Regions from separate parts of the Homo sapiens genome. Here region 1 is linked to region 2. The links are contacts of gene promoters, found by promoter capture Hi-C in human tissues and cell types (Jung and others, 2019). All regions are on one chromosome and are shown on one strand. The core of a region is centred on a gene start or on the middle of the fragment in contact, and the rest is flanking DNA. Distances in the headings are between cores, read along the strand shown.

Region 1 (3,193 bases), core at 222-2,721, 260 kb before region 2:
CCAGCCACTGCAAAAACATGCCAAATTGTAAAGACCATCAATGCTAGGAAGAAATTGCATCAACTAATGGGCAAAATAACCAACTAACATCATAATGACAGGATCAGATTCACACATAACAATATTAACCTTAAATGTAAATGGGCTAAATGCCCCAATTAAAAGACACAGACTGGCAAATCGGATAAAGAGTCAAGACCCATCAGTGTGCTGTATTCAGGAGACCCATCTCATGTGCAGAGACACACATAGGCTCAAAATAAAGGGATGGAGGAAGATCTACCAAGCAAATGGAAAGCAAAAAAAAGCAGGGGTTGCAATCCTAGTCTCTGATAAAACAGACTTTAAACCAGCAAAGATCAAAAGAGATAAAGAAGACCATTACATAATGGTAAAGGGATCAATTCAACAAGAAGAGCTAACTATCCTAAATATACACGCACCCAATACAGGAGCACCCAGATTCATAAAGCAAGTCCTTAGAGACCTACAAAGAGACTTAGACTCCCACACAATAATAATAGGAGACTTTAACACCCTACTGTCAATATGAGACAGATCAACAAGACAGAAGGTTAACAAGGATATCCAGGACTTGAACTCAGCTCTGCACCAAGCAGACCTAATAGACATCTACAGAACTCTCCACCCCAAATCAATAGAATATACATTCTTCTCAGCACCACATCACACTTATTCAAAAATTGACCACTTAGTTGGAAGTAAAGCACTCCTCAGCAAATGTAAAACAACAGAAATCACAACAAACTGTCTCTCAGACCACAGTGCAGTCAAATTAGAACTCAGGATTAAGAAACTCACTCAAAACCGCACAACTACATGGAAACTGAACAACCTGCTCCTGAATGACTACTGTGTAAATAACAAAATGAAGGCAGAAATAAAGATGTTCTTTGAAACCAATGAGAACAAAGACACAACATACCAGAATCTTGGAACCAACCCAAATGTCCATCAATGATAGACTGGATTAAGAAAATGTGGCACATATACACCATGGAATACTATGCAGCCATTAAAAAGAATGAGTTCATGTCCTTTGTAGGGACATGGATAAAGCTGGAAACCATCATTCTGAGCAAACTATCGCAAGGATAGAAAACCAAACACTGCATGTTCTCACTCATAGGTGGGAACTGAACAATGAGAACACTTGGACACAGGAAGGGGAACATCACACACCAGGGCCTGTCGTGGGGTGGGGGGATGGGGGAGGGATAGCATTAGGAGAAGTACCTAATGTAAACGACGAGTTAATGGGTGCAGCACACCAACATGGCACATGTATACATATGTAACAAACCTGCACGCTGTCATGTACTCTAGAACTTAAAGTATAATAAATACATAAATAAATAAACCCAAGGGTCAGGCACAATGGCTCATGCCTCTAATCCCAGCACTTTGGGAGGCCAAGGCGGGCAGATCACGAAGTCAGGAGATCAAGACTAGCCTGGCCAACATGGCAAAACCCCATCTTTACTAAAAATATAAAAAATTAGCCGGGTGTGGTGGCTCATGCCTGTAATCCCAGCTACTTGAGAGGCTGAGACAGGAGAATCACTTGAACCCAGGAGATGGAAGTTGCAGTGAGACGAGATGGTGCCACTGCACTCCAGCCTGGGTGACAGAGAGAGACTCTGCCTCGGAAAAAATAAAAAAATTTTTAAAAACCCAAAAGAAGAGAAACACAAGCAGACAAGAGGTAAAACAAAGAGAAAAGCACATGGTACTTGACAATATGGTAGATTTAAATCCATATCAGTAATTACATTAATCATGAATGGCTCCAGTTAAAAGAGACTGTCAAACTAGATTTTTAAAAATCAAGCTATATGCTGTTGAAGGGAAAAAAGACTTCTAAAACACTAAAAAGCCACTTAAAATAAAAACATTAAAGCAGTTAAAAGTAAGAGAATAAAGAAACAATTCTGGGAAGACGGCATGGCCACAGCCTAGTTTTTTCATCTCTGCATCCCACATTAAAACAGAAGCAACTAGAGAGCAAAGCTAAAAACCCAAAAGCAATAGCAGGTCTTCCCTATACATGGGGATTGGTTTCAGAACCACCTGCAAGTACCAAAATCCATGGATGCTCAAGTTCCTTCAATAAAATGGTGTAGTACCGTTGGCCCTCCTTATCTGCAGGTTTCAATCTGCAGTCGGTTGAATCTGTGGATACAAAACTGGCAGATATAGAGAGCTAACTATTTATATCAAAAGCTGGTGAAAAGTTATTCTCACGAACACTAAAATATAAGTGGGGGAGGGCAAACCACTAACGGCCATAAAAGCTGCATGGTACCAGCATCTGTGCTGGAAGAAAAAAAAGCTACAGGCAGTGTCTGATGGTTATGAGAATGAGAGAACTCCCTAATTCATTGGTATCGCTAATATTCACTATGGCACTAACATGAAACAGGAAGTGAAACCAGAAGGGGTTTTACCCTTTCCTAGAAGAAAAACAGAAGATGCTGGAACCCTGTGAACACTCAAAATGGACATGTTACATTTCCATGACAGAGCCCATGATGAGAAGAAACTTTTGGGAATAGAATCAAAACTGAGCAAGATAGGGATAAGAGAGAAGGGAAGATCCACACCAAAATAGGGAAGAAAATAGAAGCAGGAAGTCTCAGAAAACAAACTGCCATATTTTCAAACACTACACAAAAATATTAGAAGTCCAAGATGTTAGAAAAGCTTTCCTGAACTCTCAACCATTATAAAAGTTCAGAAAAACTAATTTTACATAAAAGTGAGCAAAGAAAAGCACTGAGGTCTAACCCCATCAAAAGTTAATATTGAAGGCGGAGCAAAATGACTGAACAGAAGCCTCCACCGATTGTCCTCCCAACAGGAACACCAAATTTAAGAACTATCTTTACAAAAAAGCACCTTCATAAGAGCCAAAAATCAGGTGAGCAATCACAGTAACTGGTTTTAACTTCATATGGCTGAAAGAGGCACCGAAGAGGGTAGGAAAGACATTTATAAATTGCCAATACCATTCTCCCCCAATCCCCCGGTAACGGCCAGCCATGTGGCGCAGAGAGAGAATCTGTGCACTTAGGGGAAGTAAAGTGCAGTGACTGTGGAACTTTGCATTGAAAGGCAGTACCAACAACACCAGGAAGAATTCAACCCACTGGAGGGATCATTTAGACCAGTC
Region 2 (3,056 bases), core at 297-2,796:
CTTTCTTCCATACCTGCATTCTGAAACTGGGTTAAGATCCTTATCTGACCACCCTTTCCTGTGCTACATTATTATGACTTAAACAGTTCTGCTTTTACCATAAAATCTTACAATGTAGCATAAAAATCCCCAAATGATTAATGAACTGCTGAGACCTCTGACTCGTTGGAGACAATTTTATTACGAATCATATCTCCAAACTTCCATTCAGTGCTTCAAAATAAGTACTCATTTAATTATCATGACTTCACCAGACAGTCACACTGCCCACAATGATGTTTACAAAAGCACTTGTCACTCCCTTTGGATGTAGCAATGCAGAAAAAAGAGTCTGTTTCCATACTCTTCGTGTGTTTATAACTCTGTAACAAGTGGCAGAGTTCAAGTGTCACTTGAGATGAAACAGCAAAGCACTTCAAGTTTACGTCCCACCATCTTTCATCCTAAGCGAATCCCGAATTTGCTCGGTTTCATTTCAGCAGTAATTCCCACTCAGTACCTGAGACAGGGTTCCAATTCAGCCCTGCGGGAAGAGACTGCAGGATTCTAGTAAGGGACTATAGGATTCTATTTTGGCCACTGCGAGGTTAACAGGCTCCAATATTAAGCAACTCCAGTATCGGTTACTGCAACACCAGAGCAGATCGGAAATAAATGTGCCCCCAAACGCACGCCAGCAGCCAGGAATTAGCAATAGCTAACACGAGATGCTGCAGCAGGGGTATCATTTACTTAGCACTTGTTCAGTTATGCCTAACCTCACAACAACCTTATGGTGTATGTATTATTATTTCCATTTAACACATCAGGATATTTTGGCCCAAGGCCCCAGGACTGGTCAGCAGCGGCGTTGGGATTCGAAAACATGTCCATAACCTAATAACCCTGGGTCCACGCCTCTGAAATACACTTCTGCGCAAAAAGGCACCTGAGGGTCGGGAAGTTCCGGAGGTGTCCGCATAGACGCGGGGCGCGAGTACGCCGTCTCTCCACAGAAACGCCCCTCAGGAACGGGACCCAAAGCGACAGTGACCCGGGACGCCCGGCAGCGTCTCTGCCGCCCAGGGGCCGGGGGGCGCCACTCACCTTGGAGAGCCCAGGGCGGGCCGCAACCAAGCCAGACGCCCCCACCGGCCGGTAGGCGGTTATCCTCCAAGCTGGCAGGAAGCGCGGTGCAACCACAAGAGTCGCCAGCGCCGCAGGTAGCGGCAAGCTAGAACGCACCGCCAGCACGCCCGGGGGCACCGCAGCCGGCGCCGCGACCCAGCCGCCCCTCAGCCGCGCCGCATCCGGGTCCCGGCCGCCGCACTCACCTGCCTGGCGTTCCGCCGCCGCCGCCTGCTACTATTCCAAGTGCGCAGTCAGCAGCCCAGGCCGCCGCAACCGCTCCACTCCGGCGCCCCCATCCCTGCCTCTCTCGATCACCTCCCGCCTGCCCCGCGCAGCACTACACTCGCCCCCTCCCCACTGCCATGGCCCGCTCCGCCGCAGCGCCGCACAGGCCGACAGAGCACGCGCGCGCCGCCGCCGAACCCGCGCCCGTGTGCGCGCGCGCCAGCCTCTCAGGCCTGCATCCCAGCAGCCCCCGCCCCGCCCTGCGCCGCCCTCGGGCCAATCCCGGGCCCCGCGGTGGCGGCGGCGGCGGCGGCGGCAGTTGGGCTGGCAGGGTGTGGGGAGAGGCCTCACTGCCGATTCCTCTACCGTTGCCAGCCCGGCTGCGACGCTGCTGCACGGCCTTTCCTAACTCTCTTTGCGACTCCCAGAGGACTGCGGAATAGGGAATCCCCGGCAAGTCGCCTTCAGGAGAGACCCATCACCCGCTGCGGCCTCCATAACCTCCTCCCGAGAGATTCCGCTCTTCCTAGGTTCCTTGCTGGCCTTTTCTTCCCAGCCCTTCTCCCTGTTCTGCGACATGGACTGACTCCTAAATTCTTGGACGCAGCACTTATTTTTTTCCCGATACCCGTCTCCGTCTTTCACTCCCTTTGTGAGGATAGGGCGCTAGCTCGGCTGCCTCACAGCTGGCCCTTCAGTCCCTACACTGTGAATGGTTGTTTCTAGGGAAAAGTCCAGGCTTTCAAGCCCAAGATTCTTGTTCTTTGTTCAATTTTGCAGTAACAACACCTAACATTTGTCTGCAGAGCCTTAAACTTTACCCCTTTTTGCCTACCTTGTTTCCTGTTACCTTTGACCCCAACCGCGAAAAATCACAGTCCTCTTTCTAGTGGGACACTTAAATTTTACTTACTGAAAACCAACATTTTAACTCACTCCAAAGCTAGTATATTCTAACGTAATGCTCCTATATTACCCTGGACAAATAGTTGAGTAGTCAGGGATAAAATCTAGAAGTACAACATAATAAAAAGCAAACGTGACAAATCAATTAAGTGACAAACCAATAGTTTATTTGAGAAATGATCCTAGTTTTTTTATTTTTTATTTATTTACTTATTTTGAATGAGAGTTTCGCTACTGTTGCCCAGGCTGGAGTGCAATGGCGCGATCTTGGCTCACCGCAACTCTGCGTCCCCCGGTCAAGCGATTCTCCTGCCTCAGCCTTCCTGAGGATTACAGGCATGCGCCACCACGCCTGGCTAATTTTGTATTTTTAGTAGAGACGGGGTTTCTCCACGTTGGTCAGGCTGGTCTCGAACTCCCGACCTCAGGTGATCAGCCCGCCTCGGCCTCCCAAAGGGCTGGGATTACAGACATGAGCCACCGTGCCCGGCCAATGATCCTGGTTTTAATTGACTTTCGATTTAAAGCAAGAACATTGAAAAATAAATTCCAGAAGAGGCTGTAATACCAACACTTTGGGAGGCCGAGGTGGGCAGATCACTTGAGCCCAGGAGTTCACACCTAGCCTGGGCAATATGGCGAGACTGACAAAAATGACGTGAGTGTGGTGATGTGCATCTGTTGTCCCAGCTACTTGGGAGACTGAGGTGGGAGGATAATATGAACCCAGGAAGTCGAGGGAAGTCGAGGCTGGTGTGAGTCGAGATAGCACGGTAGCACCACTGCACTCCAGCCCGGGAAATAGAGCAAGACCC

What was found. The method cuts DNA at HindIII sites, captures the fragments that hold promoters and counts their contacts. A contact is called where the count stands out against the background at its distance.
Region 1: a fragment that was not itself captured here is called in contact with the fragment with the promoter of PIK3CB in region 2 in 1 of the 25 tissues and cell types used here (aorta).

The regions. Positions count from the first base shown.
Region 1 is chr3:138,575,980-138,579,172 of GRCh38, forward strand. All of the region lies in intron 2 of CEP70 (centrosomal protein 70), which reads right to left. Among named protein-coding and RNA genes, the nearest start is that of CEP70, 17 kb to the right of the region's middle. The HindIII fragment of the contact is 5,148 bases long and covers 1-3,193 here.
Region 2 is chr3:138,833,382-138,836,437 of GRCh38, forward strand. It overlaps PIK3CB (phosphatidylinositol-4,5-bisphosphate 3-kinase catalytic subunit beta), which reads right to left and starts at 1,547. Exons shown (of 24, transcript NM_006219.3): 1 at 1,314-1,547. RefSeq lists a silencer at 1,044-1,783. The HindIII fragment of the contact is 36,690 bases long and covers 1-3,056 here.